Linked DNA regions of Homo sapiens: regions 1, 2, 3, 4, 6 and 7 are each linked to region 5. The links are contacts of gene promoters, found by promoter capture Hi-C in human tissues and cell types (Jung and others, 2019). All regions are on one chromosome and are shown on one strand. The core of a region is centred on a gene start or on the middle of the fragment in contact, and the rest is flanking DNA. Distances in the headings are between cores, read along the strand shown.

Evidence for each region. The method cuts DNA at HindIII sites, captures the fragments that hold promoters and counts their contacts. A contact is called where the count stands out against the background at its distance.
Region 1: a contact is called between the fragment with the promoter of C11orf68 here and the fragment with the promoter of RELA in region 5, in 1 of the 25 tissues and cell types used here (spleen).
Region 2: a fragment that was not itself captured here is called in contact with the fragment with the promoter of RELA in region 5 in 1 of the 25 tissues and cell types used here (hippocampus).
Region 3: a fragment that was not itself captured here is called in contact with the fragment with the promoter of RELA in region 5 in 1 of the 25 tissues and cell types used here (hippocampus).
Region 4: a contact is called between the fragment with the promoter of PACS1 here and the fragment with the promoter of RELA in region 5, in 1 of the 25 tissues and cell types used here (adrenal gland).
Region 6: a contact is called between a fragment that was not itself captured here and the fragment with the promoter of RELA in region 5, in 2 of the 25 tissues and cell types used here (dorsolateral prefrontal cortex and heart right ventricle).
Region 7: a contact is called between a fragment that was not itself captured here and the fragment with the promoter of RELA in region 5, in 4 of the 25 tissues and cell types used here (aorta, dorsolateral prefrontal cortex, heart right ventricle and 1 more).

What each region holds. Positions count from the first base shown.
Region 1 is chr11:65,917,686-65,920,631 of GRCh38, forward strand. C11orf68 (chromosome 11 open reading frame 68) reads right to left here and starts at 1,377. Exons shown (of 2, transcript NM_001135635.2): 1 at 1,225-1,377; 2 at 1-533. The coding sequence starts at 1,346. DRAP1 (DR1 associated protein 1) reads left to right here and starts at 1,741. Exons shown (of 7, transcript NM_006442.4): 1 at 1,741-1,858; 2 at 2,095-2,167; 3 at 2,263-2,356; 4 at 2,658-2,777; 5 at 2,884-2,946. The coding sequence starts at 1,817. RefSeq lists enhancers at 494-1,413, 1,414-2,334 and a silencer at 1,131-2,200. The HindIII fragment of the contact is 24,812 bases long and covers 1-2,946 here.
Region 2 is chr11:66,122,922-66,125,889 of GRCh38, forward strand. The region is part of intron 1 of PACS1 (phosphofurin acidic cluster sorting protein 1); the gene reads left to right. Among named protein-coding and RNA genes, the nearest start is that of PACS1, 54 kb to the left of the region's middle. The HindIII fragment of the contact is 8,035 bases long and covers 1-2,968 here.
Region 3 is chr11:65,279,919-65,282,857 of GRCh38, forward strand. POLA2 (DNA polymerase alpha 2, accessory subunit) reads left to right here. Exons shown (of 18, transcript NM_002689.4): 8 at 1,074-1,229; 9 at 1,752-1,814; 10 at 2,561-2,603. Among named protein-coding and RNA genes, the nearest start is that of POLA2, 19 kb to the left of the region's middle. RefSeq lists an enhancer at 1-551. The HindIII fragment of the contact is 6,666 bases long and covers 1-2,939 here.
Region 4 is chr11:66,068,974-66,072,128 of GRCh38, forward strand. PACS1 (phosphofurin acidic cluster sorting protein 1) reads left to right here and starts at 1,299. Exons shown (of 24, transcript NM_018026.4): 1 at 1,299-1,869. The coding sequence starts at 1,514. SF3B2 (splicing factor 3b subunit 2) reads left to right here. Exons shown (of 22, transcript NM_006842.3): 22 at 1-335. RefSeq lists silencers at 859-1,478, 1,489-1,538, 1,689-1,818, 1,829-1,978, 2,039-2,243. The HindIII fragment of the contact is 13,254 bases long and covers 1-3,155 here.
Region 5 is chr11:65,661,283-65,664,165 of GRCh38, forward strand. It overlaps RELA (RELA proto-oncogene, NF-kB subunit), which reads right to left and starts at 1,634. Exons shown (of 11, transcript NM_021975.4): 1 at 1,544-1,634; 2 at 897-923; 3 at 655-806; 4 at 405-553. The coding sequence starts at 1,550. RELA-DT (RELA divergent transcript) reads left to right here and starts at 1,724. Exons shown (of 4, transcript NR_183625.1): 1 at 1,724-1,866. RefSeq lists silencers at 1,321-1,380, 1,441-1,850 and an enhancer at 1,941-2,140. The HindIII fragment of the contact is 29,460 bases long and covers 1-2,883 here.
Region 6 is chr11:66,041,865-66,045,170 of GRCh38, forward strand. GAL3ST3 (galactose-3-O-sulfotransferase 3) reads right to left here. Exons shown (of 3, transcript NM_033036.3): 3 at 1-1,813. The coding sequence ends at 643. Among named protein-coding and RNA genes, the nearest start is that of GAL3ST3, 5.6 kb to the right of the region's middle. The HindIII fragment of the contact is 5,576 bases long and covers 1-3,306 here.
Region 7 is chr11:65,988,968-65,991,970 of GRCh38, forward strand. No RefSeq gene overlaps it. Among named protein-coding and RNA genes, the nearest start is that of EIF1AD, 12 kb to the right of the region's middle. RefSeq lists an enhancer at 395-464. The HindIII fragment of the contact is 5,676 bases long and covers 1-3,003 here.

The DNA of each region.
Region 1 (2,946 bases), core at 127-2,626, 260 kb after region 5:
CCGTGTAAACACAGATGACCTGGCGCCCACCCTCCTTGGCACGTGGGCTCACCTTGGCCACCTGAAGCTGGCCTTCAACCACGGCCCGGGCAATGCCAGCCCAGGCGTGGTCCAGCTTGAAGCCCGGTGCCAGATGCATAAGCCACTTGCCCGAGAGCACGTGGTGGGTGATGGCGAGCTGGCGCAGGGTACCCGGTGTGATGGGCCGCCCACTGGTCTGCAGAGCTTCCCAGGCTGCCTGCAGGCCCTGCACGTCCCCGGAGTTGGGGCTGTAGCCCTGCCCATACACTGCAATCCAGCCCACAGGCTCTGAGTTGGGTGAACCGGGGTCCCCATAGCGGGTAACTTGGGATGGTGGGTACTTGGCCAGCCAGGCATCCAGCTCAGTGGCAGGCGTTGTGCGGGCATCAAACACTAGCCAGGGGTCCATGTCAGCTGCCATGGCCTCTGCAGCCAGGTGCTCGGCGGTGAAGCCATCCTCACGGCCACCTGGAGAGCCCTCCTCTTCCAGCTCCTCACCTGGTTCCATCCTGCTGTGAGGGAACCGAGTCAGGGCAGGGTCTGAGACAATAACTACAGATGCCAGGCACTGGATTAAACTGTGGCCTTGAGTAAGAGTTACTGTCGATGCGCCTCAGTTGCCTCATCTTTACAATGGGATAACAACTGTTCCTGTCCCGTAGATCTGCTATGAAAATTAGATGCCTGAGGAGTCAGCGCTCCAGAAGGGTTGCTGCAGTTATTACTATTCTCCTTGACTTACAGAAAAGGAAACTGAGGCTGAGAAAAAGGACTTGCCCAAGGTCACACCTGCAGTGCGTGGCAGGGCCGAAGGGTGAATCCAGGCGTGGGAGCAACCAGCCCCAGCTACACCTCCCGGCCCTGCCAAGGCCCCCTTTTCCTGGCAGGTATCCGGTGCGCTGGCATTTAATAGAGGAACGCAAAGAAGCGCACGTTCGCGCAGCTCCCGAGGCCGGCTCTGTAAGGCCAGGCCTCCCAGGCAGGCGTTATCGGGCCCACTTACAGACGAGGACGCTGAAGTCCAGAGAGGTTACAGGCCGTTCCGAGGCCAATGGGGCGGTTCCCAGACTCGAACCAGGGCTTGTTAGAGCCTGCAGGAGAGCCAGGCTCCGGCCGTGCCGCGCCCGCCGCCATTAACGCCCACGGGCCCGAGCTGTGCTCCCGCCCCGGCCCTGCCCTGCCCCTCCCGCCGCCCGCAGTCACCTCCGGCCTTCGCTGCGTTCGACGCCGGCCCAGCCCCGGGCCCGGCTCCGCTCCTGCCGTGGCTCCGCGCCACCGCCACCGCGCCCCACCCCCGCCACGGCCGCCGCCGCCGCCGCCGCCATCTTAGCGCCGCGCCACCTCAACAACAACTTTATAGACAGGCGCAGCCACAGGGCGGAGCCGCGGGCCTCAGCGGCCGCAGCGGCCGCGCTGTGGGGCGGGGCCGGCAGGGGAAGGGGCGGGGCCGACGGGGAGGTGCTGACTCGGGGGCGGGGCCATCGCGGGAACCCCGGGAGGGGCGGGCCGCGGGGGGCGGGGCCAACGTTCGCTCTTCTGGCCTTGGGGGCGGGCGGGAGCGGCGGTCCAGACTGGGGAGGGACGCGCACCGGCCAGGAGGCTTCAAGAGGAGGGCACTAGGGCCCTGCGAGCGGCGTCTTAACCGGCGGCGCTAGGACTCCGCGGGAAACGGCGGGGGCGGAGCGGGCGGCACCAGGACCCAGGGGAACCGCGACGGGCGGGCGGCGAGCAGGCCCGGGAGCCGGGAGGCTGCGGGCGGCGGCGCTGGACCCGACGCGGCGAGAGAGGCCCCGAGATGCCGAGCAAGAAGAAGAAGTACAACGCGCGGTTCCCGCCGGTGAGCACGTGGCAGAGCCCGGCAGGAGTGGGCCCGGCTCCCGGGTGGCTTGGGCCCAGTTCCCGCTGGGCAGGCGGGCGCGCCGCGGTGTTCGGGGGCCTGGACGCCCCGCCCCCTCCATGCCCTCCCCGCGTCCGTGTCCCCCGCCCCCTTTCTCCGGGGATGCCCCTTCCTCCCCCAGCACCCCCTTAGGGGACGGTGGCGACGGGGTCTGAACTCTGCTCCCCCACCCGCAGGCGCGGATCAAGAAGATCATGCAGACGGACGAAGAGATTGGGAAGGTGGCGGCGGCGGTGCCTGTCATCATCTGTATCCTGCCGGGGGCGGACCGGGTCGAGGGGCGTGGGGGAGGGAGGCAGCGGGTCGCCCTCTCCTGCCCCGGAGTTCTCCTTGACGCTCCTCAGCCCGGGCGCTCGAGCTCTTCCTAGAGTCGCTGTTGAAGAAGGCCTGCCAGGTGACCCAGTCGCGGAACGCGAAGACCATGACCACATCCCACCTGTGAGCGGCGAGGAGCCGGGAGGGGCCGGCGGGTTTGGCGCGGGGAGTTCACACACTGAGGAAGGCAGAGCCTGGGTGGCGAGGGAGGTGGGCGGCAGCCGGGACACCAGCAAGGCCACAGACTGGCAGAGGAGAGGCTGGGCTTCCAGGCAGAGGGAGCCACCTGAGTAAAGCAGGGCAGGCCCGGGAGCGGAGATCGGCCCGGGCTCCAGCCTGACATCTGGGGCCCCTTGCTGCCACCCACTGCGGGTTTGGGTGTCTGGGCCCCTCTTGAGTGCCAGCCCCTCCTCACCTCTTCCAGGAAGCAGTGCATCGAGCTGGAGCAGCAGTTTGACTTCTTGAAGGACCTGGTGGCATCTGTTCCCGACATGCAGGGGGACGGGGAAGACAACCACATGGATGGGGACAAGGGCGCCCGCAGGTGGGGCCAGGGCCTGGCATACAGTGGGGAAGGCCAAGGCCACAGGGCTTGGGGGTGGCCAAGGAGTAGGGAGCACTCCGGGCAGATGGACTGTACCTTCCCAAAGGGGCCGGAAGCCAGGCAGCGGCGGCCGGAAGAACGGTGGGATGGGAACGAAAAGCAAGGACAA
Region 2 (2,968 bases), core at 303-2,802, 460 kb after region 5:
CAGTAAGGTTTGAGAGAACTGAATCCAATTTTGCGAGAAATTCTGCTGTGGGTAGCATGCTATCAAATGTATTGCATACTTTAGAGAAATCTTTAATGAAAGGAAGAGTCAGTGTGACAAACTTCATTGTCTTATTTTAAGAAATTGTCACAGATACCCCAACCTTTAGCAGTCACCATCCTGATCAGTCAGCAGCCATCAACATTGAGGCAAGACCCTCCACCAGGAGAAAGATTGCAACTTGCAGAGGGCTCAGAAAATTGTTAGCTTTTTTTTTTTTTTTTTAATGAGACGGAGTCTTGCTTGGTTGCCCGGGCTAGAGTGCAGTAGCATGGTCTTGGCTCACTGCAACCTCCGCCTTCTGGGTTCAAGCAATTCTCCTGTCTCAGCCTCCCAAGTAGCTAGGATTATAGGCACGTGCCACCATGTCCAGCTAATTTTTGTATTTTTAGTAGAGACAGGGTTTTGCCATGTTGGCCAGGCTAGTCTTGAACTCCTGACCTAAGGTGATCCACCTGCCTCGGCCTCCCAAAATGCTGGGATTATAGGCGTGAGCCACCACGCCTGGCTCAATAAGCCATTTTTATTTTTTTATTTTATTTATTTATTTATTTTTTTGGGACAGAGTTTCGCTCTGTCGCCCAGGCTAGAGTGCTGTGGCGTGATCTCGGCTCACTGCAAGCTCCACCTACCGGGTTCATGCCATTCTCCTGCCTCAGCCTCCCAAGTAGCTGGGACTATAGGCACCTGCCACCGCGCCCGGCTAATTTTTGTTGTTTTTAGTAGAGGTGGGGTTTCACCGTGTTAGCCAGGATGATCTCGATCTCCTGACCTCGTGATCCACCCACCTCAGCCTCCCAAAGTGCTGGGATTACAGGCGTGAGCCACCGCACCCAGCCCATTTTTAAATTAAAGTATATACTTTTTTTTTTTTTAAGACAATGCTATTGCACAGTTGATAGACTACTGTATAGTGTAAACATAACTTTTATATGCACCGGGAAATAAATAATTTCATGTCACTTGCGTTATTGCAGTGGTCTGGAACTAAAGCCACAATATCTCCAAGGAACTGTTTACTTGCTGTCTCGCTATCAGACTGTGAGACTGTCAAGGGCAGGCATTCTGCGCAGCTTTGGCAATACCGTCTAGTTGTAAAAAAGACGGAACTGTTTCAGGCCATGGGCATTCTAGTGGGAAGACAAATATTTAATCTCAAGTGTGCAAAATGCTGCCATAGAACAGGAGTGCAGTGGAGCATAATAGGAGCTCTGGACCTTGTCTGAACACATAAAAGAAGCCTTTTTCCTAAGGAGTGATTGCTTAAGTTGAAACCTGAAGGATGTGTGGGAATTAGCTAAGTGAAGAGAAGGAAGAGTTCCAGGCAGAGAAAACTGTGGACATAATGGCTTTGGGCAAGTTACTCAGCTTCTTCTCTGCTTCAGTGTCTTCATCTATAAAATGGGAATAATATAACCTAGAGTTATATAGTTAGGGTTGTTGTGATCATAAAGACAGTATTTTAAGTCATCATCTTCTAATATTTCTGAAGTGGGGCATAATTGGTTCATTCAGGATAACTTCTGGGTCCACGTTTATGTATTGAATGGCTAAATGTATGGATCTGCTTACTGCACTTTAACCTTGTTCTTTACCTGCTCTGAAGCCTTTCTTGCATTTTAATGACAAGAACGGTGTATTTTGCCTTTCAGTGAGTTTGTTAATTATGGAGATCAAACTCTGCCTTTCATTACTGCATAAGTCTCATGGTGTGTCAGACATCTTAGGTCAGTGTGTGTCATCAGTTAGAATGCTTTCACCTTCAAGAAACAGAAAAGCCAGCTCAATGACTTAAACACACAGATGTTTATCATTTCAGAAAACAAAAGTCTGGGGCAAGGGTGAGTCCAGTGCTGGTTAACTGAGCAGCCTGGCAAAGGCATCAAGGAGCCAAGTTCATTTTGCCCTCCTGCTTTGTCATCCTCAGTACAGGCTTGCCCGCTGGCTCCCCATGGTCTCAGGTGGCCTGTCGCAGTTCCAGGTGCCACAGGGAGACACCAGAACATCCCATTGAGGAGGAGGAACTGTTTCTTTCCATGTCTGTCTCTTTATTGATGAACATTTGGGTGGCTTCCACCTTTTGTCCATTGTGAATAATGCTGCTATGAACATTGGTGAACAATAAATTCTTTTTAAAAATACAGCATCTAGGGGCTAAGCTATGAGGATGCAGAGGCATAAGAATGATACAATGGACTTTGGGGACTCGGGTGAAAGGGCAGGAGGCAGGTGAGGGATAAAATACTGCAAATTGGGTACAGTGTATACTGCTTGGGTGTTGGGTGCACCAAAATCTCAAAAACCTACGGAAATAAAAAATTAAAGTACCACATCAATTAATGCGTAGACCAAATCTTATTGCAATTAAATTTCTACTTTTAGCATCATTTGCTACAATGAAGTTCTAGTATTTGAAATATTTTGAGCCACTGACTTGCTGTTTAATGGGATTTGATCCCATAGTAAAGAAGATATAAACCAAGTAAGTCAAAAGGATCTTAGAAGCAATTTTATTCCATCCTCTATTTTGAAGATGTTCTGGATTCAGAGTGATTTTCCAGGGTCAGAGAGCTAAGTCATGTTAAATAATTCAAAGTGTATGAAAATACACATTACTCACAGATTCAAGTAGAGTAACCAGGGGTGTCTTTTGCCTCTAGTCTTACTCTAACCAGTGTCTAACTATGCCTGTGTAGATAAAATAAAATAGAAAACTGGGATAATTCAGGTATTCAAGTAATTGAAGAAAATCAGTCCTGTTTAAAATATCTGGGCAGGCCGGGCATGGTGGCTCATGCCTGTAATCCCAGCACTTTGGGAGGCCGAGGCAGGCAGATTACTTGAGGTCGGGAGTTCAAGACCAGCCTGGCCAACATGGTGAAACCTCGTCTCTACTAAAAATACAAAA
Region 3 (2,939 bases), core at 440-2,939, 380 kb before region 5:
CAAATAGAAGCATTCACGTATCGAGATAAAAGGACAGCAGCGACGGTGGGGTTTTCAGAATCTTGTTCTCTGGACAATGACTCACAGTCTCTCCCCTGGTTTGGTCTCTTGTTATAGACAAACTGCTGCCAATAGTATCTTTATATCATAGTTTAATCTGGCATATATACCAGTGCTTTCTCTCTAGAATGTTTTCTAATCTAAGGGGAAATATATTCTAGAAGTTTCTTTAAAGTACCTTTGTCAATGTTTACATTCAAAGAATGATCAGTTGGGGAAGTGATGCAGAACTGTGTCATAGAAGGAAGTGTTAGAGGACTTGGAAGGAAGTAATTGAGGGAAGGCAGGGAGGCACAATCACTGGGAAAGATGAGACTTCCTCTGTTTTCTCCCAAGAGTGGGAACAGAACAGAGGAAGCCATGGAGACAGAGATTTTAGCTCAATTAATAAAGAACTTCCTGTTAAGAGGTTGTATGGTATGTGGCTAAGGATATGGCTCTAGAGCCAAATTTCTGGTTTCAAACCCAAGCTTCACCCACAGTTTGACCTTGACTAAATTATCTAACCTTTCTGTTGCTTGTTTTCCTCATCTGTAAAATGGATACAGTAATATCCACCCGATGGTTGTTGCAAGGATTAAATGAGTTAATACATATAAAATGCCTAAGAATACATTTTAGAACAGTGCATGGTATTTAGTAAGCTCAAGAAATGTTAGCTATTATTAAGTAGTTATAGCTGCCCAAAGATGCAGTGGGCTGCCCTGGGGTGGTGAGGACAGGGTGGGGTAGGCATCCAGGGGCAAGTTCCCCTACACTAGAGATGCTCACACTTAGGCAGCCTCCTAGGAAGGCTCAAGTGCTGGGTGGATGGGTGGACAAGATGCCCTTTCAGAGTTCTTCCATCCTGAGAGTCAGTGATGACGCGGTAGTCACCTCAGGGTCAAAGCAATGCCCTGCCAAGAAATGTATTTGTTGTTTGCAGTTTGTTTTGCTATTCACCCTATCGACTTCAGATTTTGAGCTCCTGCTCCAAAGACTGTCATTCTTATGCTGTGACCTTCCTTTGGTAGGAGCCTGTCACTCTGCTGGGCCAGATTGGCTGTGATAGCAACGGGAAGCTGAACAACAAGTCAGTGATTCTCGAGGGAGACCGGGAACATTCCTCGGGTGCTCAAATTCCAGTGGATTTATCTGAGCTTAAGGAATATTCTCTGTTTCCTGGACAGGTGAGATTGGAGGAGTTCCACCAGAATGCAGGCGCACTCTTTACCCCTGTAGTGTAGGTGCTGTGCCATGCGCAGCTGCTCCTCAGTTCCTGTCTCTGCTGCCATGGGGTGCAGCTGGAGCACATGCCCCAGAGCAGACACCACTGTTGGGATTCCTGTTTCCCCCATGCTCTGACCCAGGCTCTGGGACCTGACTGCGCAGCCTCAAATCCCAACTCCCCGCTCCATGAGGTGCATGACTGTGCACAAGGTACTTAACCATCTAAACTACAGTTTCTTCACTCACAAAATGGAAATAATAATTCTTACCTCATAGGATTGTTGTGAAAATTAGATCACTTATATAGAGCATAATTATTATTACTAATGCAACGCCCTTAATTCGTTTTCTACAAAAATGCCCTAAGTTTATGATTACAGAATGAGAGTAGTTGGACAATGCTTTTAACTGCCTCAAAATAATGTATTCCAGACCTCATTGATCTCCACTGCTTAGCAATCCTGTTTGTTTTTGTCTTTCAGGTTGTAATTATGGAAGGAATCAACACCACTGGTAGGAAACTTGTTGCCACCAAACTCTACGAGGTACACAGCAGTACCCCCACTTGCCTCTTGGTTTGCTTCAGACAAAGTATGTCTGGAAGCTGTCTGTTCTAGAAACTGGTCCTTTTTAGGAGCCCATTTATTTGTTAGTCAGTTCTCCATCTGTAAGTGGGAACCCACCCCTAGGCCAGGGGTCAGCAAACCCTTTCTATAAAGGGCCAGACAGTAACTCTTTTAGACTTTGTAGCTATATGGTCTCTGTCACAATGACTCAATTCTGCCTTTGTCTACAAAAGCAGCCATAGAGGACTCTTAAACAGATGACTGTGGCTGTGTTCCCATAAAACTTTATTTAAATAGTGGGCTGCAGCCAAATTTGGCCCAGAGGCCGAAAGGTTACCTATCCCTGCTCTAGGCAACAATCCTCCAGAGATTTTCGTAGAATGCCAGGAAAAGTAGCAAGAAACCATTCTCTCCCATCCTTGCCTAGAAGTACACTGATACTTTAGGCACCTGTTTTGCTCCCACTTGTTGCTGGGTATTTTATGACAATTGAGTAGTGACCTCCCATTACCTGGGTTTCTTTGCCCTCTGAGCAGTATAGAAAAATGGCAGGTCCCATCAGATCCAGGGAGCAAGACAGAGGCACATCCTTCCCCTGCCCTCTCGCTCCTCCCCACTGTCCTCCCATCACACACCTGCACCACCCCCAACCTGGTGCCCTCCCCTTTCCTTACCAAGGTGATGCCTGGCGCAAGACCTTACTTGAGCTTTTCCCCTGTTTTTAGGGTGTGCCACTTCCATTTTATCAGCCCACTGAAGAGGATGCAGGTGAGTTTCGGTTCAAATATTGTTTTGCCAACAATGAGGATGGTAGACATGAGTCCAGGAGTGCAGTTTCCCAAGCCCAAGAAAGCTGCAGAAGCTGCTGAAGAGCAATGTGACCAAGCAGTGAGGGCGCCACCATCATGAGTTCGTAGGTTTTTTGTCACAAGACCCCTGGTCTGAGCCCAGTGAGCGTTGGTCGTGCTGTCGCCTGAGTTCTGCCTACATGAAGCATGTTGTTTAAAGACTAATGTTTAACAGGTATTTTTGAAGGTTGCCTTGGAAAGGAAAAGATGTACGATTTCAAAAAGAATTTATTTACATGCAGCATGGGCAGATGCG
Region 4 (3,155 bases), core at 49-2,548, 410 kb after region 5:
ACAATCACTGGGCTGCCCCAGTAACCACGAACATAAACTGGGATTAGACGGCGCATTTGACTGGTGGTGACGCCAACCCCAGGCTGAAATCTGTGTTTCACCACTGCCCTGCTTTGTAGGAAGGCTTGGGGGAAGTACCTCTAGGTCTGGTTTGACCTTACTACTTTGTCCTTGGGGAGTAAAAATAGCCAGATTAGCGCCCTAGCGCGGCAGAGGAAGTAACAGTGGGCTTGGGAAGTAGGCCAGGGCAGGCCTTCCCAACTGACCTTGTGACCAGAAGTTCAAGTCCTTACCTGTGCGACAACATAGCTCAAAAGCTAAATTGTCTTGAGTCCATATGAACCCTTGGGTTCAAGCAACACTAGTCGCTGGGGTTTGGGATTTGTATGTGGGATGGGGGGACTTACTTTCTCCAGGTTGTAATCTGGTCCTGAGCAGCCTTTCTGACAGACTAGAGCAGGCTGGATCACTGGCTCCCATGGGCATTTGCCAGCCTGTGGGGAGGGTAGTCATGCGCTGCTGTTGTACTACTGTTGGTGTTTAAGTGCACCAGTGGAGGCGCTCACTTGCCGGAGGGTTCAAGATGGTCTCGGGGTTGTGGGGGGCATGATCCAGATAGGACGTGGCAGCTGAGCTAGGCCTTAGGAGGAATGGAATTTTAGAAATTTGGTAAGCAACAAAGCACTGGCACTCTAAAGAGGCATTTGGGGGGTAGGGAAAGAAGAGGAAGGTTGGCTCCAGATGGGCCCCGGGGTAGCTTGAGAATTCACTTATGCGAAGAACCTTCTGGACTCCAGGTCCCTGAGCCCCCGCTTGCCCTCGGGGCGGGAACTTCCCGGATCACAGGCACCCGCGGTGGCAGCGGGCCCCGGGTCTCCGCCGACCTCTCTGTTTGCCGGGGCCGCAGGGCAGGGCTAGGTCGGCAGGCGGAGAGCCGGCTTCCCCGGGCAGACCCCCACCGCTGGGGGCGGGTTCCGCATTGGCTCCGAAGACCCGAGGGGCCGAGGCGCGCTCCCGCGGCGGCCCCCTCCCTGCAGGGACCGAATCCCGGAAAAGCCGGGTTTCCGCTGGCGGGGCCGCGGCCGGCCGTGGGCGGGGAGGGGAGGAGCGGGGGCAGACTGGCAGCGGATTTGAGGGCAGGACCCGTGGGCGCGCGCTGGCCACAGACCACCCCTTCTACTCCGCGGGAGCGAGGGGCGCGCGTGGCTGCACGCAGGGCGCGAGCGCGCCCGGCCCGGCCCCTCCGCGCTGGGTGGGGCCGCGCGGGCCGGGCTCCCCGCCCCCTCCCGGACACGCCCACCCGTGTCGGCCTCGCGAGCCGCAACAGGCAGCGGCGGTCGAGCGCGAGGCCCGCGCGCCCAGAGGCCCCGCGCGTGCGTGCAGCTCGCTGGCTGCTCGCGCTCGGGCAGGCGGGCTGAGGAGGCTGCCGCGCCCCCGCCGCCGCCGCCGCGGGGGAAGCCTGGGAGCCAGATCGGCGTCGCCTCGGCCTCCGTAACCCCCGCCTAGCCGGGCCATGGCGGAACGCGGAGGGGCGGGCGGTGGTCCCGGAGGCGCCGGGGGCGGCAGCGGCCAGCGGGGATCCGGGGTCGCCCAGTCCCCTCAGCAGCCGCCGCCGCAGCAGCAGCAGCAGCAGCCGCCGCAGCAGCCGACGCCCCCCAAGCTGGCCCAGGCCACCTCGTCGTCCTCGTCCACCTCGGCGGCGGCTGCCTCCTCCTCGTCCTCGTCTACCTCCACCTCCATGGCCGTGGCGGTGGCCTCGGGCTCCGCGCCTCCCGGTGGCCCGGGGCCAGGCCGCACCCCCGCCCCGGTGCAGATGAACCTGTACGCCACCTGGGAGGTGGACCGGAGCTCGTCCAGCTGCGTGCCTAGGTGAGCGCGGGAGGGTGCGGCGGGGCGCCGGGGGAGCGGGGTGGCCGCCGGGGCCCAGCCCTCCCCGCCCCAGCGCCCATGGGGTCCCCGCCCTCCATCTCCCCGACTGTCCCGCGGCCCGGCCTGGCTCCAGCCAGGCCTCCCGGGACTCCTGCCACGGGGACCCGCCCTCTCCTGGCAGCCCCACCTTCTGCCTGGGGCCGGGACCACCCTTCTGTCCTCCCCGAGGGACCTTCTGGCCTCGGCCCCGGGCTTTCTCCGATTGGGCTGACCGAATCCGGCCTTCCTGGCAGTCAGTTTCCCTGAGTAAGTCACTCTCCTGCCTCGCCGGCGCCGGGAGCTGTACATACATGGATGTGGTATAGATCTCTTGATATTATTATTTCCCAATAGACTCAGCATGTGCCAAACTCGATTGTCACCTCTTGCAGGTAAAGCTCATATAATCACCCTAGGGGCTTCTCATTAGCCTTCGGCACACATGTTCATTTGAACTTCATATTACACACGTTCTGTCCCAAGCGCTAGGCTCTTAGTTTTGGGGCCCTATTTAATGTGTCCTCAAGTGTATTTTTACCTCCCCTCCCCCACTAAAACTGGTCCCAGAATCTCCCAGCTCTGCAGGGCTGTATGAAATTACTGCCTTGTTCCTAAATTCAATCCATTGCTCTCTGTCTGTTGGAACCATCTGGGGACTTTCCTTCCATTGGCAAAATAGGCCTGAGTTTGGGAATATTTTCTGTTTTTGTATTGGCAAGGCAGTCTGTCTCCAACTCTGGGGACAGGGTGCTGTGTCTTACAGTTTGCCACTTGAATAAGACGGTGTGTGGAGCTGGTTTCACCCAGAAAGCCCAGAGAAGTGCCTGGAGGTGTTCTTTTTTGTCACCTTGTAGCTGAGTTGATTCTGTTGCCTTGAAGTCTTGGGCTGTCTCCTCACTGTTGGTTAGGCAGACGGATGTGTAAGTCAGAGTTAGAGAGGATTGCTGGGCTCCCCCCTCGACTGTCTTCCTTTCCCCACCTTTATTCTGGATAATATTGTTTTATATATATATCCCAGATAGGAATGATGAGAGTACATCTTTCTGTTTCGCTCAGCTTAAGGAACAGAGCATTATCGCTTCTGTTGAAGCTCTCAGGGTGCCCCTTCCTGACTGTCTCCCCTCTTCCTTCTACAAAGGTAAACACTATTTTGAATTGTGTTTATCATTTCCCTTGTTAGAAAAAAATTAGTTTTACTACATAATGCATCTCTATATATTTTATAGTTCTGAATGTTCTTGAAGTTT
Region 5 (2,883 bases), core at 384-2,883:
TCCCGAAGTGCTAGGATTATAAGCATGAGCCACTATGCCCGGCCTGTATATTTTTTTACAGCCTGTCTCTGTCAACTGCAATGTCAACTCCAGGGGAGAGTGCTGGTTCAATGGTTTTCTTCCTCAAACAAGAGACGTGACTCTGAGGGACTTGTCCTTCCAGCTACAGGGGTCAGGAATTCAGAAGTGATTAGGGACCCATCCGTATCCCCTGGAACTCATCTGCTAGAGTAAACGTACAAATAGATAATTTCAAGACAAAGGCAGTTTACTTGCAGAGCTGAGTCAGGGCAAGGAGTGAGGAATTCTGCCCTGGGTCCAGAAAGGAGTAACACTGTAGCGGCTACTTCATAGCCCGCCTCCTGTCCCCTCATGCTGGGCCTCCTAGCCTGCAGGGACCTCACCTGTGGATGCAGCGGTCCGGGCAGAGCTCAGCCTCATAGAAGCCATCCCGGCAGTCCTTTCCTACAAGCTCGTGGGGGTGAGGCCGGTGAGGAGGGTCCTTGGTGACCAGGGAGATGCGCACTGTCCCTGGTCCTGTGTAGCCATTGATCTGTCCAAAGTACAGAGGCCCAGACATCCAAACCTGACTCCCAAACACAGAGGGCTGGGGTTCCACAGTCCCTTCCCCGCACACCCTGGCGCAGTGCTGACCTTGATGGTGGGGTGGGTCTTGGTGGTATCTGTGCTCCTCTCGCCTGGGATGCTGCCCGCGGAGCGCCCCTCGCACTTGTAGCGGAAGCGCATGCCCCGCTGCTTGGGCTGCTCAATGATCTCCACATAGGGGCCAGAGGCCTGGGCTGGCTCTGCCAGGGGACACCGCAGCCCCATTAGGCGGCTGCCCCCACTGCCCTACCCCAGGGAGCACCTCCCCGACCGCCGCGGGGGCCACTTACCTGCCGGGAAGATGAGGGGGAACAGTTCTGAAAGGGGAGGGAGATCAGGGTCAGCACACACCCAATGCCCATTCTCACAAGGAGGAATCTGCTCTCCACGGAGAGGAGAAGCCAGGCTCCCTCCCAGGGGAACTGAGTCAGGACCTGCTCCCTAGAACCTGCGGTGAAACTAAGGGGTGGAGGAAAGGAACCAGAAACACCTGCTTCTTGAGGGAAAACGGGGTAAGGAATCCTTCTTCTCCAGAGGGAAGCTGAATCAGGGCCTGTTGTACTTTCTTAAGGAAAATTGAGGGAGGGCACGCCCCACCTCCCTCCAGAGAGGAAACTGAATCAGATGCGTTCTCCCCTAATAGGGAAACGAAGCCAGAGCTGCCCCCATGGACGGTGTGGAGGGAAACTGAGTCAAGGTTCCCTCTGCTCCCCCACCCAGGGAGGATGCTGAGTCAAGGGCCACCCCCTCCACCCAGAGGGGAAACTGAGTCAGACCCCTCCCCGCCTGCCCCGCCCCGCGCCACCATCCGGCAGGCCGACCGCTCCCTGCGCAGCGCCCGTCGGCGCAGGAAGGGGCGGAAAGCGGCGCGGGGGCTCCCGCCACAGCCGCGGCGGCCCCGGCGATGCCACCCCGCGGGGTCAGAGGGCGACCTCACCGTCCATGGCCGGGGTCCCGGGGGCGGGGCCGGGGTCGCAGCTGGGCCCGCGGCGTGCACTACAGACGAGCCATTCGCCAGAGGCGGAAATGCGCCGCGCGGCCCGCCGTCGCGTCACTGCCCGGAATCCGGCCGCGCCTGCGCGCTGCCCCGCCGCCGCCCGGCGCAGGGGCCGGGAGCAAGTGCACGCCGCGCGGAGGACGAAGAGGCTGCACGCACAGCCGCTGCCGGGGGTCGGGGCCAAGTGCGCGCCTCGCCGAGGACGAAGAGGCTGGCGTGCCCGGTGGCTCGGCTAGCTCCCGGGTCCCGGCCCCGCCTGGAGGGTGGGTCCGCCGATTACTCACTTTGTTTTTAGGGGATTTCAGGGCCCCCTCCCGCCGATCGGCGGAGTTTGGTGATGTCACTCTGGGCCGGGTCTGGAGCAAAGCCAGGGCTACTGGGCTGCGGCCGCCCGCCCCGCGCAGGGAAAAGCCCGACCGGGCCTTCTGCTCCGCAGAGGCCGGGTGGTTGAACTCCGCGCGGGTTTCCTAACCGCTAAAGGTGCCTTTCGGTGGTGGCTGTCTCAGAAGCACGTTAAAATGTCCTACCCACCCCAATCTAGATGCGGCTGTGGGGGAATGGGAGCGGCCGGACCTCCCAGCCTGACAGTGCATCAAGAGCTTTGCGGAGCCTACAGCCCGGATGGGACGACTGAGGCCCTCCCGCTGGCGAGCTGGCCGAGGGCTCGTCCCTCTCCAGCTAAAGCGCCAGCTTACGATACAGCCAAACTGCCGGCTCTCATCGGCTGTGGGAGCAGGAGGCCCCCAGGGGTAAATCCCGGAGCCTCGTCTCTGAAGCCTGGCGCTTGTGTCTCAGAAGGTGCGGGACCCACAGGGACACTTGAATCAGCAGGCTCACGACCCCCCACCCCCCTGCCCCCGCCTGTGTTTGCCCTGGACCTCCAGCTAGGGCTGACCACTAATTCTGTCATGTGACCCCACAGTGCAGGTAGCTCCCCCAAGACCAAGCCCAAGGCGCGTCCGTGTGGAGGCTGGGGCTGACGCACCCCCACCCCAGGCCTCATCCCCAAAGGAGGATGCTCCACTGCAGGGGGCGGAGTCTTCTCCAGATGGAGAAAGACTTTTTTATTTTCTCTGAATTCGTCTTAAATTAGGAAATCATGTGGGAATTGGAAAAGATTGGAAATTCTGACTTGTTTCCCAGGCTCTGAAGAAACAGGAAGAGAAAAGTGAAAATAGAGTTAGCACCCCGCCCACTCATTTCAGTTTCTCCAGTGGCTGGCCCTGATTAGAAAAGTGTTTACTTTTGGCAGGGGGCGGGGGAGGCCGACTTCAGGTGAC
Region 6 (3,306 bases), core at 615-3,114, 380 kb after region 5:
CTCATGGGTCCAGCCACAGCTCCTCCTGGGCATCCGTTTCATCCTCAAATGTGGGGAATCCGGCTTCTATGACTGACATACAACTCGCACATTTTAAAGATGTTTTATTAAAAAAAAGAAAAACCAACCAAACAAAAATCCCAACCCAAGAACTCTTGGTTCTGGGAGACTGGGAGCAGCTTAGGTCTGTGGGGAGGGTAGAACCTGGAAGACAGAAAAGTATAGGGAGCCTCAAGCCCTGGGAGGGAGAGCAAGAGCAGCCTTTCCCTAGGGCTGAGCCTCTCTCCATGGGGCCTGGGCTTATCCACTTGGAAAAGACAGGTTGTGGGGGCTCAGCCCCCAGAAAAAGGCAGGGTGAGCAGTTCTGGACAGCCCTCAGGCCTCTTGTCAAAATCACCAACCAGCTGGGAAGGAGAGGGTGGCCCAGCGCTGGATCCAGCCTATCAGCGCCGTGCCCGAAGGCAAGGTTCAGCCCACGATCGGGAGCGGGGGCTCAGATAGGGAGGCGTACCCCAAAGTTCAGCGAGGGACTCAAGCCCCTTGAAAAGAAAGGGCTCTCATGGGGGCAGGACATGGAGGCAGCCCCTGGCTGGACTCCTGGGAGGGCAGGGCAGGACCCATACTCCTGGAGGCCTGCGGAGCTCAGGGACCTTGAGGGCCGCGAGGCAGCACTCGGATGGGCCGAGGCGGGGGATTGTCCAGGACGGGCTCGGGCCGAGCCCGCGCACCGCCCCGGCGCTTCTGCTTGCGCAACAGGTAGTTCGAGTACTGGACCTCGGGCATGGCCAGCTTGAGGCAGGCCTCGGTGGCCGGGCCGGCGCCGCCGCCGGGCAGGTCATAGCCCATAATGTCCACCTTGCGGCTGGGCTGCCACGGCTGCAGCTGCTTGGTGCGGATCTGCGCGGCAGGCCGCAGCAGTGGCTCGTCCCCGAAGCAGCGCCGCAGTAGGCGCTGGCGGGCCTCGCGCAGCTCGCGCGCCTCGCGCTCCACGCACGCGCGGCCCGCGCGCGCCACGTGGCGCCAGAAGGTGGCGTTGAAGTGGTCGTAGAGGCCGGCGTCCAGGGCGTTCCAGGTGCGCGCCGCCCGCGCCAGCGCCGCGGGGATGGCGGCCAGGCGCGAGCTGGCGGCGCGCGCGTTGAGCTTGGCGTAGAGCACGTCGTCCAGGTCCCAGGCCAGTAGGCGCCGCAGCAGCACTAGCGACTCGTCGAAGTACTCGGCGATCATGACGAGCGAGAAAACCTCCTCCACCTGGCGGATGAGGCCCGCCAGGTAGGCGGCGTCGTCGCGCGGGCTGCGCTCATTGTCGCCGCCCAGGTCGTAGGCCAGCGTGTTGTGTGCGAACATGGCGAAGTGCTCGCCAGCGCGGTAGTATGCCTCGGGCGCGCGCAGGAAGGCCTCGAGCGAGGCGTTGGGTACGCGCCGGAAGGCCGGGCAGTACTGGTTGTAGTAGCTGAAGAGCGACTCGAACATGGCGGCCGGCTCGCGCAGGATGGTGACATAGACGGTGCTGGGCGGCATGAGGCGCTCCAGCTCCGCACGGTCGAAGCGCAGGTGGCTGGCCAGCACGTGCGGCGGCCGCGTGGCCGGGTGCACGAAGTGCGCCGAGAAGTTGCGGGGGTAGCAGAACTGGTGCTCGCAGCTCGGGTGCGGCAGGGCCACCGTCAGGTTGTGGCGCTCGGCAAAGCGAAACAGGATGTTCTGCACCGTCGTGCCTGCCGTCTTGTGAGTCTTCAGGAAGGCCACAGTCATGTGCTTGGGGCGCGGCGGCGAGTTCCGCAGAGGAGGGCAGCTCAAGGGGAACAGCTTGGGGTACCTGCCAGGCCCAGGGAGTGTGCGGAGAGGAGGGTGTGAGGGGGCTGCCGCTTGACCCCTGCCCTTACCCAAGGACTGTGGGATGCCCCACAGCGCGGCCCCGCCTGGGCTGCACTCATGGAAAGGTCGAGGGCGGTGCTTGGTAGCCTCTAAGATGCCCTCTATGATCCCTGCTGCCCTCCTGGTATTCATGCCCTTGAGTATTCCCCTCACCTGAGTTAGGCTGGACTTATCATTGCATCTAAAGAAGAGAAGAGGGCAGAAATGATGGGATGTCACTTCTTAAATTTCATCATAGAAAGACTGTGGCTGGCTAGTATCTTGGTGTCTTTCACTCAATCTGGGATGACAGATGATGGGGGAAGCAAGCTGCCATATAGTGGGCAGCCCTATAGGGAGCTACCACTAAGTGGGAAAAGCCCACAAGGACCTAAGGCCCTCAGTCCACCAGCCGGCTTGAAGACCTGAAGCCTGTCAAAACCACGTGAGTGAGCTTGGAAGCTGATCCCTTCCAATCAAGCCTTCGGATGAGACTGCATCACCAGCAAACACCTTGGTTGCAACCCCATGAAAGACCTTGGTCCAGAAGTTCCCAGTAAGCCACACCTGGCTTCCTGACCCAAAATAACAGATGTTTGTGTTTTCAGCTGCTAAGCTTTAAGATAATTTGTTTATGTAGAAATAAATAAGGGACAAAGACCCCTGGAGATCTTTGAGGAATCCCACTTTGTATATGTAGAAACTGAGGGCCAAAAGGAGAACAATCACTTACACAAAGTCTGGAGACGACTCACATGGTCACTAAATCCTTTTGCTCTTTCTCATTTTTACTCTTTAACTGGCTCCTCACTTTGTAGATGGTTGGCACTGGGCTTTGCAGCAACCCATTGTTATGTTTCTCTTGAGGCTTCTAAAGCCTCATTAATTCAGTCATCAAATATTTTTTGGGTGTCCACTATGTGCCAGGTTAATGCTAGGTTCAAGAAATACAGTAATATACAAAAACAATCCTAGCCCTCGTGAAGCTTTCATTTCTGTTGCTTCATTCTTAAAACATGGGTGTTTGGGATTTCAAACCAAATTATCTGGCAAGGGGGGCTGGGCGCATTCACACCATTCTCAGGGGCAGACAGTGTAGAAAATGGGGACATGAAGTCTCCGAGAGGTGCAGGGATTTGTTGGGTTCACACAGTGAGTCAGGAGTAGGGTTGGGGTTCCCATGAATCACATGGTATCCTGTGTGAGGGTGACTGGCTGTGTCACACATATCATGTCTCACTTTATAGATGAGAAAACGGGGGCTCGGAGAAGTGAGGGGACTTGGCCTTGCCCAGCACTACGGAAGTTGTGAGAAGTTGTTTCCACTGGGGAAATGCTTAGCTGCATGCTGTGGGGAGTTGAGCTGGATTCGGATCTCAGCTAACTGATTCTGTAACTTTGAGCAAGTCACTCAGCCCTTTCATTGAAGAGCAGTCCCTGTCCAGGGAGGCTGTG
Region 7 (3,003 bases), core at 149-2,648, 330 kb after region 5:
TTCGCAGTGGTCTACCAGCATCCTAACTGCTGTTGGGGCATGTGGACCCTTTGATTGGACCAAGAATGCAGTTCCCTTATGAGACTGTAACTAGGTTAGATGCTTTCGGGTTCTGTAGCCCAAGGCAAGGTGCTGACTTGCTGGTTTTACGTGCTTAGGGTGACCTCTGCTGGTGGCTTCTCTAAATGTTGGCAGAATACACAGCCAGGAACTGCCGGTACCGTCTCACATCAGCCAGTAGTTGGAGCCACATTGCTATCAGAAGGAAAAGAGTGCTCTTCTCATACAAGAATTATTAAAACAAAGTGATGCCCAATGCTGTTCAAGAATGAACAGCCTGGTCTGGTTAGTAACAAAGGATTCTGGTACTTGGCAACTCATTGTGGATTAGCAAGGGTTAAATAACAAAGTGGGTATTTTAGCGTCATGAGAATCTATCACAATAACTGGAAGAATTGCTGCCAGTACTGGCACCTGGTGTACAGCCCTGGGCACTGCTAGTTCTTTTTTTTTTTTTTTTTGGTTGGAGTCTTGCTCTTGCCCAGGCCGGAGTACAGTGGCGCCATCTCGGCTCACTGCAACCTCTGCCTCCCCTCCTGGGTTCAAGCGATTCTCCTATCTCAGCCTCCCAAGTAGCTGGGATGACAGGCGTGCACCACCACACCCAGCTAATTTTTGTATTTTTTTAGTAGAGACAGGGTTTCACCAGTTGGCCGGGCTGGTCTCGAACTCCTGATCTCAGGTGATCCACCTGCCTTGGCCTCCCAAAGTGCTGGGATTACAAGCGTGAGCTACCGCGCCCAGCCTGTACTGCTAATTCTTCATTCCTCAGTGTCACCAGATGAGGCATACGGCATGCCTCCACACCTCCCACAGGGGCTTTTGGATTCTCTTGCAAATGTCACCAGTGGATCAAACACACGCACAGCATGAACTGCTGGTGGTGTCCGTGGTGTCCTGACTTCTTGCTTCATCAGTGATTTTCTGAGGGCGGCTCCCACTGAGGAAACTGCCCACACTTCTCTGTGTGCTTCTCAGACACAGGTCAGTAGAGATGTTTGGGCCTTGAATGAAGACAAAACCCACGGTTCTGTGGCCCAAGTCACTTTCCTGGGAGACAACTGGGCAACTACTAAAGACGAAGCACCAGGCCGGGCACGGTGGCTCACCACCTGTCATCCCAGCACTGTGGGAGGCCAAGGCGGGTGGATCACCTGAGGGCAGGAGTTCGAGACCAGCCTGGCCAACATGGTGAAATCCCATCTCTACTAAAAATACAAAAAAAATTAGCTGGGTGTGGTGGTGCAGGCCTGTAATCCCAGCTACTCGGGAGGCTGAGGCAGGAGAATTGCTTGAACCCTGGATGCGGAGGTTGCAGTGGGCTGAGATCGTACAATTGCACTCCAGCCTGGGCGACAAGAGCGAGACTCCATCTCAAAAAGTAAGTAAGTAAGTAAATAAATAAATAAATAAAAATAAATAAAAATAAAGCAAACCATGTAAAAAGAAAAAAAGTGCACATGGAATTCGGACAATGGTTGCCTTGGGTGGGACAGCAGAGAATGGGCTGGTCAGGGTAGGATGGGAGGTGGAGTATGTTACTTGGGTTATTGTTAAAGTCCTAGCCTTTATTTTATGGTGGTGGGTTTGAAGCTGCTCACATTATTAAAAATAACCAACCAAATATTTAATTATTCTTGACTTTTAATTTTTTATTGAAAGGGAGTCTCACTATGTCACCCAGGCTGGCCTCAAACTCCTCAAGGGCTTAAGCAATCCTTTCCCTTCAGCCTTTCAAGTAGCTGGGATTACAGGCATGTGCCACCATGCCCAGCCAAAATGTTTAAATATAGGCCAGACTCAGTGGCTTACGCCTGTAATCCCAGCATTTTGGGAGGCCGAGGCGGGTGGATCACCTGAGGTCAGGAGTTCGAGACCAGCCTGGTCAACATGCTGAAACCCCGTCTCTACTAAAATATAAAAATTAGCCAGGCGTGGTGGTGGGCGCCTGTAATCCCAGCTACTCAGGAGGCTGAGGCAGAAGAATGGCTTGAACCTGTGAGGCACAGGTTGCAGTGAGCTGAGATTGCACCACTGCACTCCAGCCTGGGTGACAGAGCAAGACTCCATCTCAGAAACAAAACAAAACAAAACAAAACAAAGAAAGGAAAAAGAAAAAGAACTACAGGATAAACCCAGAGGGATTGGTTTGTTTCCCATTGGTTATGAGAAAAAAACAAAAACAAACAAAAACAAAGGGAGTATAAGTGGGAAATACGGTAAGAGCAGCAATTAATGAAATACCAATACAAAGAATGACAACAAAAAGCTGGTGCTTAGAAAAGACTAATAATGACCTTCTGCCAAGATTGACCAGCTATAACAGAGAGAAGGCACAAATAAACAATATTACATGTAAAAAGGGGGACATAACTTTGGATACAGCCAAGATTACAAACATAAGGCAATCATACAAATAACTTTGCGCCAGTAAGTTTGAAGCCATAGCAAACATGAGAAAATATGGGGGCTGGGTGTGGTGGCTCACGCCTGTAACCCCAGCAATTTGGGAGGCTGCGGTGGGCAGATCACCTGAGATCGGGAGTTTGAGACCAGCCTGGCCAACATGGTGAAACCCCATCTCTACTAAAAATACAAAAATTAGCCGGCCATGGTGGCACATACCTGTAATCCCAGCTATTCGGGAGGCTGAGGCAGGAGAATCACTTGAACCCGGGAGGCGGAGGTTGCAGTGAGCCGAGATGGGGCCACTGCACTCCAGCCTGGGCGACAGAGCAAGATCCTGTCTCAAAAATAAATAAATAAATAAATAACATGAAAATATTTTTCCTTGAAAATATGACTGAAGAACAGAACACCTGAGTAATCTATTACCACTGACAATCTAATTCCAAACCTACCTACCCACCCACCCAAAAAATCGCCAGGCATGGTTGGTTTTACAGCAAGCTTTACCAAAAATTGTAGAAATGCAAAATTCCA